Linked DNA regions of Homo sapiens: all the other regions are linked to region 1. Evidence: promoter capture Hi-C in human tissues and cell types (Jung and others, 2019). All regions are on one chromosome and are shown on one strand. The core of a region is centred on a gene start or on the middle of the fragment in contact, and the rest is flanking DNA. Distances in the headings are between cores, read along the strand shown.

What was found. Contacts are between HindIII fragments. The study calls those that stand out against the background at their distance.
Region 2: a fragment that was not itself captured here is called in contact with the fragment with the promoter of AICDA in region 1 in 2 of the 25 tissues and cell types used here (H1 embryonic stem cells and liver).
Region 3: a fragment that was not itself captured here is called in contact with the fragment with the promoter of AICDA in region 1 in 1 of the 25 tissues and cell types used here (aorta).
Region 4: a fragment that was not itself captured here is called in contact with the fragment with the promoter of AICDA in region 1 in 1 of the 25 tissues and cell types used here (H1 embryonic stem cells).
Region 5: a fragment that was not itself captured here is called in contact with the fragment with the promoter of AICDA in region 1 in 1 of the 25 tissues and cell types used here (adrenal gland).

The regions. Positions count from the first base shown.
Region 1 is chr12:8,611,510-8,614,209 of GRCh38, forward strand. AICDA (activation induced cytidine deaminase) reads right to left here and starts at 1,350. Exons shown (of 5, transcript NM_020661.4): 1 at 1,251-1,350. The coding sequence starts at 1,258. The HindIII fragment of the contact is 12,992 bases long and covers 1-2,700 here.
Region 2 is chr12:8,909,311-8,912,010 of GRCh38, forward strand. No RefSeq gene overlaps it. Among named protein-coding and RNA genes, the nearest start is that of PHC1, 3.8 kb to the right of the region's middle. RefSeq lists an enhancer at 2,332-2,700. The HindIII fragment of the contact is 5,079 bases long and covers 1-2,700 here.
Region 3 is chr12:8,992,714-8,995,413 of GRCh38, forward strand. It overlaps KLRG1 (killer cell lectin like receptor G1), which reads left to right. Exons shown (of 5, transcript NM_005810.4): 3 at 2,406-2,575. Among named protein-coding and RNA genes, the nearest start is that of KLRG1, 4.5 kb to the left of the region's middle. The HindIII fragment of the contact is 5,260 bases long and covers 1-2,700 here.
Region 4 is chr12:9,030,449-9,033,148 of GRCh38, forward strand. It overlaps a transcript of KLRG1 not described here. Among named protein-coding and RNA genes, the nearest start is that of LINC00612, 33 kb to the right of the region's middle. The HindIII fragment of the contact is 4,513 bases long and covers 1-2,700 here.
Region 5 is chr12:9,059,705-9,062,404 of GRCh38, forward strand. All of the region lies in intron 1 of LINC00612 (long intergenic non-protein coding RNA 612), which reads right to left. It also overlaps a transcript of KLRG1 not described here. Among named protein-coding and RNA genes, the nearest start is that of LINC00612, 4.0 kb to the right of the region's middle. The HindIII fragment of the contact is 7,716 bases long and covers 1-2,700 here.

The DNA of each region.
Region 1 (2,700 bases), core at 100-2,599:
ATTTCCCTTCTGTCCTGTTGAATTTCATCTTTTCTCCTTTTCTGTCTTTCTCTGAATTTCAACTGCTGATTTTACCTTTGCTTTCCATTTTACTTTGAACAAGTATTTCCAATGGACCCTTCACAAGGACCTATAGCTCAGACTTGTTTTCAAAATCTCAGTGTAAACTGAGGAGACATTTGACATTGTCTGACCTCAAGAAAATTTTCTGAAGAACATTAAATCCTCCATTAAAAATCTTTATTCTGTATATTGGATGTGATGGCTCATGTCTATAATTCCAGCACTTTAGGAGGCCCAGGCAGGAGGATCGCTTGGGCCAGGACTTAGAGACCAGCCTCGGCTGGGCTAAGACCCTGTCTCTACAAAAAAATATATTTTTAAAAAATCTTTATTCTGTAATGTAAGTTCTTTATAAAGGAGTTAAATTGAGGTAAAGTATAAGGATTAGGTGTTATTCTCATACATCCATAGTAATCATAAATGTAGGAATAGAATAAGTTCTATGACAATAACCTATCAAAAACTGCACATAAAGACATTATGAGGACCTTAACCAAATTCACACCTAAGAGGTAAGTTAAGCTACGTCTGAACAAATGGAAAGATTAGTTAATAGTAAAAGTGCCATTAACTGCCTAACAATTGGGCCTTTAACATTAAATAACTTGCTTGAATGAATTTGTCTCCTTATAATGGACACAATCATAGTGACTTTCAAGCAATTAATTTAGAATGCTTGGCATTTCTAAAATTACAAATTTTCTTACTATAGCTAAATTATTTCAGTAACGCCTCCCTAGGAAAGTGTGTCTTCAAGTTGTTTTACTGTTGAATATTTACAAAATTATTACGAAAATTAGCACTACCGTTTTTAGTACAGTACTGCTATTACCTTTTCATGATTTGAGTCTCTAAAGATTTGCTATGTTAATATTATTACCATAAATTAGTTTCAACCATGGTACAAATCTCAGGACGAATCAGTACATTGTACGCACTACTTCTTTTGCCACATGAAAAAGAGGGAAATCAAGAGAAGTCTGAAACAGAAAGAATTGGGCTGACAGCGTATAAGATCTGAATAGAAGAAAAGGAGACAGATCAAAAAATATATATGCATATTGATCAAGCTGATCTTATCAGTCAGACAGTTACATGAGAGAAAGGGATAGCTACCAGTCTCATTACTCAGATTTGCTCTGAGAGGAAGGCCAGTGCAATCACCCACGAGAAGACTGCCTCTTTACCTGTCCATAGTGGTGTCCAGAGTGTCTTCTTGCCTCCCTGCAAGTCTCAGGCCAGAAAAATCTCACTTCAATTAATGATGGTTCTCTGTCTTAGTCTGACAGTGCATTGGCCCTTCACATTCAAATTTGAGCTTGCCCTTTTGGGCTCCTCCCCTGACAGCATCACCCCCACCAGGTACCCCAACGGCCTTGCTCCTGATTTGGATCCAGTGAAGATGGGTGGGTGGGGCTGTCATAGGCAGAGTCACACAGGTTAAACCATTGAGGGCAGCTCTGCTTTAATGTTTAGGTTCCTTTGGGGCTGCTGCTCTAAAAGCCCAGTCCATGCTCCATAGCTAGCAAAGATCAGGAGGCAGTAACAGTAGACACTTCAATTATAATCATGATAACACAAAATAAAAGCACAATGAGAATAGTAATATTTATGTAAATACCTTAAAGAGCATTTAAATAGCTTCTTGGGTTATTGTGTTGAAGAGCCTCAGATAGCCTCTAATTCCCCCATATTCCCACAGTCTCTCTGAACCTCAGTACAGACAGGCACTAGCAGCTCCTGCTTTGCAGTTAAGCAAATGAACTCAGTTATATAGAATTTAGAACACAAAAATTTTGCCTCCCAAACCATGGATTTTTTTCTTTCTGATTGCATTACAAGAATTGCTTGAAGACTAGATATTTACACCAAAGAGTGATTTTTGCATGAGCCATCTTTTTTAGAAAAAAAAAAAATCCTTAATTTGGAGTCAGAAGCAGCAGCAGTCCCCCAAAATACAAAAATGCTTGTTTCACCAGACAGATTCAGTGTCTAACTGGCTGCACTGAATTTGGAAAACAGGCTAAGATCTTCAAATAAAAGACTTTAATTTTGTGCTCTCATAGAACTTGGTCTATTAAAGATTTTATTTCTCTCTCCTACTGTAGCCCATATGCATTCTATTTATTCACTGAGTAGATACTTCATGCCTACTGTTAATGGAAACTATGCCAGGTGCTAGGGATGCAATGCTAAGCAATGCAGCTAGGGTCTCTGCTCTCTTCCTGCCTCAAGCCTTTGATACCATCTATACCTTGATGATTTTCAAATCAATAGCCCTAGCTTGGACCATGTATTCGTCTGTTCTCACACTGCTAATAAAGACATGCCTGAGACTGGGTAATTTATAAAGGAAAGAGGTTTAGTTGACTCACAGTTCCACATGGCTGGGGAGGCCTCACAATCATGGCAGAAGAGCAAGGGACATCTTACATGGTGGTAGGCAAGAGAGAGCTCACGCAGGGGGAAATCCCTTTATAAAACCATCAGATCTTGTGAGACTTATTCACTATCATGAGAACAGCATGGGAAAGACCCACCCCCATTGTTCAACTACCTCCCACTGGGTCCCTCCCATGACATGTGGGAATTGTGGGAACTACAATTCAAGATGAGATTTGGGTGGGGACACAGGCA
Region 2 (2,700 bases), core at 193-2,692, 300 kb after region 1:
GAAAAAAGGCCAGGCGTGGTGGCTCAGGCCTGCAATTGTAACACTTTGGGAGGCCAAGGCGGGCGGATTGTCTGAGCTCTGGAGGCTGAGGCAGGAGAATCTCTTGAACCTGGGAGGTGGAGGTTGCAGTGAGCCGAGATCGTGCCACTGCACTCCAGCCTGGGCAACAGAGTGAGACTCCGTCTCAAAAAAAAAAACAAAAAAACAAAAAAACAAAAACCCTGTCTCTACTAAAAATACAAAAATAGGCTGGGCGGGGCATGGTGGCAGGCGCCTGTAATCCCAGCTACTTGGGAAACTGAGGCATGAGAATTGCTTGAACCTGGGAGGTCAAGGCTGCAGTGAGCTAAGGTCACGCCACTGCACTCCAGCCTGGGTGACAGAGTGAGACTCAAAAAGAGTCTCAAAAAGAACATAATAAAAATTAAAATAAATAAATAAATAACATAAGAAAAAAAGAAAGAAGTCTGACATGCGTCTCACTGGGTGAAAATCAAGGTGTCAGCAGGGCTGTCTGTGTTCTTTTCTGGAAGCTCTGGGGAGGATCCATTTCCTTGCTTTTTCTGGCTTCTGAAGGCTTCCCACCTTACGTGGCTTGTGGCCCCCTTCCAGTGTCAAAGACAGAAATGACAGGTTAAATACTTCTCATGTCACATCACTGAACCTGTCTTTCCTGCCTCCCTCGTCCACTTTTAAGGACGCTTGTGATTACACTGGGTTGCCAAGGTAATCCATGATAATCTCCCTATTTTAAGGTCAACTGATTAACAACCTTAATTCCAATTGCAACTTTAATTTCTTTTTGCCATGGAGCATAACGTATTCACAGATTTCACAGATGGGGACATCCTTGGTGGGGGGGCATTGTTCTGCTTACCACAGTTTATCAGTAGACAAGAGAGAAAACAGCCAATTTAGGGAAATAATATATATATCTCTATTTTCTGCTGAGACATCTCCACAGTGTCTTTACAGACTGATAACTAGAGCTATTTCTCTAGTTAACAAAGGCAGAGTGGCCTTCCATTGCAGGTATTTACCATGGCAAATGCCAAGCTTCTTTGTGCAAATGTTTATGTGTGTGCTAAGCATTTTAAATAGATCTTTTGCATCACTCTATTTTCACACTGTGAAGGATATAATGTAGTTATGAGCTTTGAAGATGGACAGACCTGAATTTAAATTCTGACTCCATTACTTATTACACCTATGAACCTTGAGCAATTTACCTAATCTTCCAGAGCTTTAATTTCCTCATCTATAAATTAAGGATTAAAAACAGCTAGCAGAAAAGGTTATTGAGTTGAATGCAATAATGCATGTGAGGCCATGAGCAGAGGCTCTAAGTATATTTTGAATTGTTTTTCCCTTTAGATGTTTTCCCAGGTACCTGGTTCTCTGGGCCTAGGACACATAATCCCAGAGGGTATAAATCTAGTGCTTGGTCCCAACATGGTTTTGCTCCCTAAATACTGAAATAGTAGACAAGACGACACACCTGAAGCCCGAAAGAGGTAAATTTAGTATACAAGGAAGGGAATACTCTTTGTTATATAAAATAATAGTAAGTTCACTAAACTAATTAATGCATAAACTCAACTAAATTGTGAGTTAATAAGGTTGTGATGTAAACTGAATAAAACATAAAGAATGGTTTAGTTCTATTTGGTGATCACAAAAATATATTAGTTACTAAGGAAAATTAATAATAGCCTGTGCTATGTGTCAGGTCCCAATGTGAAGTGCTTTACAAACATCTCACTTATTTCCACCAACTACCAGGTGTTACCCCTGTTTTACTGAAAGCAAACCAAAGTTAAGGAAAGGTGCATAACTTGCCATCATTATAACTGTCAATACTGATGAAGAGTATGTTATCGTCAGTCTTATGCTCCTTAAGGATGTAGGGGTACTTCTATATCTTTTGCGGGCAATGATGGATGGAATATTGGGCTGAACCAATTAGTATGTTAATTTTAAACTTCTGCTTGAAGAAAGGATCTATGGTAGGTATTAGTAGCGAGAGATGAGAGGTATCCTTTATATCTTTTAATTTCATATTCTTTTCCTATGAGAGAAGGGCAAGAATCTAGGAAATTAATTCAGTTAACTAATATTTATTGGACATTTTCTATTTTCCAGGGATTACGAAATATCCCTCTTCTACATTTATCATTTAGACTTCAATTGTCTTCACTGAAAACTGAGGGGCTTAGTTTTAAAGTTCTTTTTTTTTCCTTTAAATATCTAAGAGCCTATAAATCCACTCAATCTTCATTTTCTCCCAACTAGACCTTAAAGTGGCATGCAGAATTATAGTGAGACACAGGTGGGCTGTGTATGGTGGTTCACAGCCACAGTTGGTGGTGGGGAGAGTAAAGGTTATGATTTCCTTTTTTCTCTACTTCTTCCTATCCATATTTGCATAAAAACATGGTCACACATTCTTACTTGATTACTTGTAGAAAGACACATTCCAAAGATACTAACACCTTTAGGGTAAAGGACATCTCTTCCTTCACAATTTATTGCAGAATGCTAGGTTTACAGGAGAAGCTTGAGGAATGCTTAAGCAATGTTCAGTTGATATGAAAAGTTCTATTAGCTTAACTTCTAGTCTATTTGCTTCAGTTGCTGCCAAACATCGACAGCCTTTCAAACCAGGATCCTTCCTTATTTAGAGAAGTTTGCAGGAGGGCT
Region 3 (2,700 bases), core at 75-2,574, 380 kb after region 1:
TTTTTTTTGTAAAGACATTTCACCATGTTGCCCAGGCTGATCTCAAACTCCTGGGCTCAAGCCATTTGCCCTTCTTGGCCTCCCAAAGTGCTGGGATTATAGGTGTGAGCCACTGCACCTGACCATATTTTCTTAATAGAACTGCAGTCAAGTCCTCTTAAAATTTCTCCCACCTTTCTTTCTTTTAATGCAAGGCTGAGAATAGTTCTTATCGTAGTATGCTCATAATTTTGTATATTGCTTTTTAATTTTATGTTGCCAGAAACATTTCCTTACTGCCATATTTATTGGGATGATTGAATTATAATATTAATGATGTTTAACTTTTCACATAATAGATATATCATAATGTAATGAAACATTCTGAATTTTTTTTTTTTTTTTTTTTGCCATTCAGGTGCTTTCACATTTTCTAAAACTAATTTTTAAGTTTAGTTCTTCTAGGACCTTAAATCTGGTGATCTAGAGGACTCTCAGTTTGTTGTTTTACAGTCTAGAGTCCTAGCTTAGGTTTATATTTTTAGGGGATGATAGTGACCGATTACACAGAAGTGATTTATTAGGGTTCTTTTTTAAATTTTTTTAAAAATTTTGAGACAGAATCTCGCAATGTTGTTTGGGCTGGAGTGCAATGGCGTGATCTCGGCTCACTGCAACCTCTGCCTCCCAGGTTCAAGCGATTCTCATGCCTCAGCCTCCCGAGTAGCTGGGATTACAGGCACCTGCCACCACGCCCAGCTAATTTTTTGTATTTTTATTAGAGACGGGGTTTCACTATGTTGGCCAGGCTGGTCTCGAACTCCTGACCTTGTGATCTGCCCGCCTTGGCCTCCCCAAGTGCTGGGATTACAGGTGTGAGCCATTGCGCTCTGCCGATTTATTAGGATTCTAAGAGTTCAGCTCCAGGGCTTCTACCTCAGAGCCAAGTCCGACCTTTGACAAAAAGGAACTCCTAGGGAAGTTGGGAATTTCTAATCCAGGCTGAGTAATGTCACAGTTGTATGGAAAAAGCAAAATCTATAAGGTGCCAATTTAACAGCTTGATCTCCAGAACTTATATTGGTTGTATGCCAGTACTTCCTAGAGAACAATTATCTAATATTTATATGAAAAATACTACTTTCCCCACTTTGTAACTCCCAAATCTAGAGTAGATATATACTCTATTCTGCAATTATATATCTACACATGTGCTCATGGAGTATAATGGCTCATACTTGCTCACTGTAGAATTGTGCTTATGGCGAGTTTATGCACATATGTTTAAGTATTGAAACTGAAGTAGAAAAATCAATAGAATTTTGGAATCTTGGTTGGAATTACCTTGAAAGCATATTCAGTTCCCTTTCATCTTTGATTGTTTGTTTTTGAGACAGTGTCTTGCTCTGTCGCCCAGGCAGGAGTGCAGTGGTGTGATCTTGGCTCACTGCAACCTCTGCCTCCTGGGTTCAAGTGATTCTCATGCCTCAGCTCCTAAGTAGCTGGGATTACAGGCGGGTGCCACCATGCCCAGCTGATTTTTTTGTATTTTTAGTAGAGATGAGGTTTCACCATGTTGGCTAGACTGATCTTGAACTCCTGGCCTCATGTGAGCCACCTGCCTCGGCCTCCCAAAGTGCTGGGATTACAAGAGTGAGCCACCATGCCTGGTCAGTTCCCTTTCATCTTGACAGAACTATGAACCAACCATTTTAAAGGAATGTGGATCTTCCGTATTTAAAAGAGCTCGGTTAGGGCATTCTATCACTTTTCACTTTAGCACCTGTTATGCTTCTCTGCCAGAAAACCCTTTTGAAAAATATCAAAGTAAGTTCTTTTTGCTGAGGTATAAGGGTTTTTTTCCAGTTTTCAATGGTGAGGGACAGTTACATCTGTGATAATAAAAAAGCAAAACCTTTCATTCTAGTTAAGTTTGCTTTTCCTAATTTCTTTTTGGCATTTTCAGTTGGGCATTCTGAATGATTCTGCCTGATTTAAGCAATATACATTATGCAATTATGCAATATATACACAGAGCAAAGACAGTACACAGATGCATATCATATGAATTCACAGTTATCTGGTGTGTGTATATTACATGTGCACAGAGATCTCTAGCACAAGTCAAGTACTTGCTCCAGAGTTTTCAGGCAGATTGTTGTATGCTTTCTTCTTTGTTCCTTCAGTTATAGTCATATTCTTGTGTAGTGGAATATATACTTAGTAGATGATGGAGTTGGACATTATGAGGACATTATGAGGTATTCAAATTGACACCACGCATTGTTACACATTTCTCTAACCCTTAATCTGAAAAGTGGTGGAGCAGGGAAGACCCAGGGCTGCCATATTCCATTTTATCTCCCATTTCATTTCCAAGACTGAGTGGTCCATAAAGATGTGAACCAGGTCCTCTTCTCTCCTAGGCTCCAACTACTCCACTTGTGCCAGCTGTCCTAGCTGCCCAGACCGCTGGATGAAATATGGTAACCATTGTTATTATTTCTCAGTGGAGGAAAAGGACTGGAATTCTAGTCTGGAATTCTGCCTAGCCAGAGACTCACACCTCCTTGTGATAACGGACAATCAGGAAATGGTAAATGCAAACATTTAGAAAATGTAGGGTTTTTGTTTTGTTTTTGTTTTTGTTTTTAAACTGCTATTTAAATGTATCATGTATCCTCTTTTAAGGAACAGAAGGAATCTGTGATTTGGGGGGGA
Region 4 (2,700 bases), core at 36-2,535, 420 kb after region 1:
CGGGCTTGAGTGCAATGGCAAGGTCTTGGCTCACTGCAATCTCTACCTCCCGGATTCACATGATTCTCCTGCCTCAGCCTCCCAAGTAGCTGAGATTACAGCAGCCCACCACCACACCTGGCTAATTTTTTGTATTTTTAGTAGAGACGGGGTTTCACTATGCTGGCCAGACTGGTCTCGAACTCCTAACCTTGTGATCTGCCCGCCTCGGCCTCCCAAAGTGCTGGGATTACAGGCGTGAGCCACTGTGCCCAGCCTAAAGGAACTATTTTTACATGATAAAAAACAATGGTATGGAGTCAGCAAGGAAAACCACAATAACACAAATGCTGACTTTCCTCTCTTCCACTACTTCTACTCTCCTTGCAACTTAGTAGCCTCATTTTGAGAGGACATAATTTTAAGAAACAGTTGGCTTGTAGTTAAGGCAAAGAGGAGTGGGGATGTTCTATGTAAAGGTTGATAAGATAGGGTAACCTGTTTTCAATGTAACAGGGATTGCAGTGAGCACACCAGATAGCATCTCCCGGCAGGGGGTAGTGAGAGAATGGTCAAATTGTGGAGGCCTAGCTTGCAATGGCATGAGACTGTGGGCAGAAATTAATTTTAACATTTTAGAATTAATTTTTGTTGGGGATTTCCCTGCAGGGCTGCTGCACGTGGTGAGGGCTCAACCCCTCAGGCACTCCTGTGAGGCCCCTGGTCACCCAGGGGCACCTTTAGGCTGGGAGGGGCAAAAGCCCTTTGTCTTCAGAGCTGAAAAACTCAGTCTCTCATTTAGCTTTGAAAACAACAGTTCAGTTCCTCAGAATCAAGATAAATTTTAGGAGAAAAAGCAATAGAGAATTCCCTTTAGAATGCATCTCTGAATTAGAATTAGGATCCTTAAACAACAATTTCCTAGGAGAAAACCAGCTCAGAATAAATCAAGGACTGTCAAACAAAGGGAGGTCTGGGGCTCAGGAGGACTTACCCGTTCCACCGGGGGAGAAGCTTGAACTCAGTGGGACTTCAACGGGCCGCTGCTGGTACCTTAGCTCTGGTTTCGGGCAACTCTTTCAGGGTCCTGAGTCTTCTCTGAGGCCTCATGTATTTGGGCACCAAAATATTGTCAACAAAAAGAGTCAAACTCTATAAAATATTTGAAGATTTATTCTGAGCTAAATATGAGTGACCATGGCCCACGACGCAGCCCTCAGGAGGTCCTGGGAACATGTGCCCAAGGTGGTCGGGGCACAGCTTAGTTTTATATATTTCAGGGAGTCATGACACATCAATCAAACACACTTAAGAAATGCATTGGTTTCGCTCAGAAAGGTGGGACAACTCAAAGCAAGGGCTTCCAGGCTAAAGGTAAATTTAAATCTTTTCTGGCTGACAATTGGTTGAGTTTGTCTGACCCGTATTAATTTCCTAGTGCTGCCCTGACAAAGTACCATAAACTTGGTGGCTAAAGCCAGCGGAAATGTATGGTCTGACAGTTCTGGAGGCCCAAAGTCAAAGTGTTGGCAGGGATGGTTCCTTCTGGGGGAGAATCTACTCAGTCCACTAATTTAAATACTAATCTCTAGTGGAAACACCTGAACAGACACACGCAGAAGTAATACTTAACCAGATATATGGATATTTCATGGCCCTGTTAAGCTGACACATAAAATTAATCATCACAGAAGCTCACCTATGATTAATTGATTTTTTTGAGGGTGCAAAAAGCTACTCAGTGATGAGTATAATAAAATATTAGAAAGAGTGTTTTTGGTTGACTCAGAATTTTGGCTAAAATCTAAAGCTGAGAACAATAGGTGTTAAGAAATCCTATATTCCAAAGAGAGTTCTTAGCTTACCCTACAGGACTTTCCAAACTGGTCTAAGGACAATTACCAACAGCCCATATCAGGAAAAGATAGAGACTGATTGAAACCACCTTTGCGAAATTATGACAGTAAGAGAAAACTGACATAGTTGACTCCATTTTGCTTCTAAGCTACAAGATGTCTTCGGTGATTCCTCAGTGTAGGCCAAACTAACTTCAGGAGGCACTTAATTTATACTTTAACCTTAGAGCAAAGATGATAATAGCCCTCTCCTAAAACTAAACCACCTCTGTAAAACTAATGAAAGGCCACAGGTTAGGATTAGGAATTATGAGAGGGGCCTGAATTCTGCTAAAATGTAGGCAAAGTGAAACGATAACCAGCCATTGTTCTGGAGGTCACAAGATTTGTAACTTCCCCAATTACTCCTGTAGATGACATCAACTGTTATAGAACCCAAGATTGGCCTTTTGAGATTTTTTTCAGACTGTTAACGTTTCTCATGACCAGCTGACTCGGGCCAGACCTGCAACTCATGAGTCAATCAGTCCTGTAGCCCTACCCAGAGGCCAATTCAGTGCATGAAGACTATTTTCCACACTCCTATGATTTTACCCCAATCAATCAATATTCCCCATTCTCTAGCCCTCTGACCACCAACTATCCTTTAAAACCCCCAAAACTTTGAGCCTTCAGGGAGACTGATTTGAGTGATATTTCTGGTTCTACTACATGAGTTAGCCTCCTGTCAATCAAACTCTTTCTTTACTGCTATGCCGTAGTCTCAGTGAATTGATTTTGCCTGTGCAGAGGGCAGGAAGAAACTGCCGGTGATTACATGATTGCAGAGACAAATTCCTTGAAAGAATTTGTGAATCAAAAGATT
Region 5 (2,700 bases), core at 182-2,681, 450 kb after region 1:
AGACAGGTTCTTGCTCTGTCACCGAGGCTGGAGTGTGGTGACATGATCACTGATCACTGCAGCTTCCCAGGCTCCAGCTATCCTCCCACCTCAGCCTCCTGAGTAGCTGGGACCACAGGTGCATGCCACTATGCCCGGCTAATTTTTGTGTTTTTGGTAGAGATGAGGTTTTGCCATGTTTCCTGGGCTGGTCTTGAACCCCTGAACTCAAGCAATCCATCCGCCTTGGCCTCCCAAACCAAAGTGTTGGGGTTACAGGTGTGAGCCACTGTGCCCAGCCAGCCCTGGCATCTTTTTTTTTTTTTTTTTTTTTTTTTTGAGATGGAGTTTCGCTCTGTCGCCCAGGCTGGAGTGCAGTGGCGTGATCTCGGCTCACTGCAAGCTCCGCCTCCTGGGTTCAAGCCATTCTGCTGCCTCAGCCTCCCGAGTAGTTGGGACTACAGGTGCCCGCCACCACATCCGGCTAATTTTTTGTATTTTGTTTGTTTGTTTGTTTGTTTGTAGAGACGGGGCTTCATTGTGTTAGCCAGGATGGTCTCGATCTCCTGACCTCATGATCTGCCCACCTTGGCCTCCCAAAGTGCTGGGATTACAGGCGTGAGCCATCGCACCCGGCCCCAGCCCTGGCATCTTTAAGTAGCTTTGCTAACTATTCCTGTGTCCTTAGTGGTCTTTCAACTGCTGGGAATAAATAGCCTTTACTGTCAGTGTGAATGGTTCTGAAAACTAACTGCATGATAGAACCACCTACAGAGTTCATTAAAAACATAGATGCCTGTTAGCCCAACGTGGTGGTGGGCGCCTATAGTTCCAGCTCCTAGGGAGGCTGAGGCAGAAGAATTGCTTGAACCTGGGAGCAGAGGTTGCAGTGAGCTGAGATTGCGCCATTGCACTCCAGCCTGGGCAACAGAGTGAGACTCCATCTCAAAAAACAAAAAAACGAAAACAAAAAACAAAAAACGCAGATGTCTGAGCACATCCCCAAAAATAATTAATTAAATCTTTATTGATGAGACCTGGATATCTGCATTTTAAAATAAATTCTACAAAGGATGCTAACCAGATTTTAGAATTGCTGGTATATGTCGCTTCTTTATAACTTATATGTTTTGGATTAATGATGATCTTTTTCGTCACGTGAAGACTATCTTCACAATTAGACTATAAGATTTCTCTAGGTAAGAGACAGTATATTTATATTTCCTGTGGTTACTCGAATATGATTTTGCTTAATTAATATGTCTTGCTTTTGTGAAACACATTTAACTTGTCTACTGATGATGGATCAAATTGTGAATATTATTTCCTTTTTTCATCCGAGAAGCTAGGATTAAATTCCTTTAAATGAATTTGAAGAATTTTGTATTTATAACCAGAGTCATGGGTTGTATTCCAAGTAAAGCTTTTTTTATTTTTTATTTTTTTATGAGATAGGATCTCACTATGTTGCCCACACTGGTTTTGAATTCCTGGGCTTCATATGATCCTCCCATCTCAATCTCCTGAGTAGCTGCCAGATAAAGTTTTTGAAAAGTGTTGTTGAATTGGGAATCTTTTTTCTCTTAGAAAAATAGAATTAATTTTTTTTTAATAGAGATGGGGCCTTGCTATGTTTTCCAGATGTTTGCCAGGTTGGTCTTGCACTCCTGGCCTCAAGCAATCTTCCTACCTTGGCCTCCCAAAGTGCTAGGATTACAGGTGTCAGCCACCGCACCTGGCCATTGTGCCTGGCCAAAAAATATAATTTTAAAAAGACCAGAAAGACTTTTCTTTAGAGGTAAAGATGAATGAGCCTATGTTAAAGTGTCATTGAAAGAAATTATTAATGGTCAGTCGTGGTGACTCACCCCTGTAATTCCAGCACTTTGAGAGGCTTAAGTAGAAGGATCTCTTGAGCCCAGGAGTTTGAGACCAGCCTGGGCAGCATAGCGAGACCCTATCTCTACAAAAAATAAATAAATAAGATGAAAAAGAAGTTATTTATTCTTCGATCATGATGGCAGGCAATCAAAGAATCTTGGAGGCATACTAGTTAGAGCTTTTAACCCCACAGGTCTTCATTGTCCACATCGGTGATGACCATTTTTTTAGTAGACAAGGCAAGAACTTAATGAAGAGAATTACTTTACGTTTCTTGAATTTACTACTGAAGAGTTATAGGTAGCTAATAGCTAATATTTTCGTAGCTAGTGTTGGGACACGGAAACCAACCCCCCAAAATATGGTGCTTTGATGGGCTGAACTGTATAGTATATCTGATATATTTATATAGTGTATAAAAAATCACCTGACACAATAGATGGATAATATATCTGATATATTTATATATCGTATAAGAAATCACCTGACACAATAGATATGTAATATATCTGATATATTTATATATTGTATAAAAAATCACCTGACACAATAGATGGATAATATATCTGATATATTTATATATTGTATAAAAAATCACCTGACACAATAGATGGATAATATATCTGATATATTTATATATTGTATAAAAAATCACCTGACACAATAGATGGATAATGTATCTGATATATTTATATATTGTATAAAAAATCACCTGACACAATAGATGGATAATATATCTGATATATTTGTATATTGTATAAAAAATCACCTGACACAATAGATGGATAATATATCTGATATATTTATATATTGTATAAAAAATCACCTGACACAATAGAT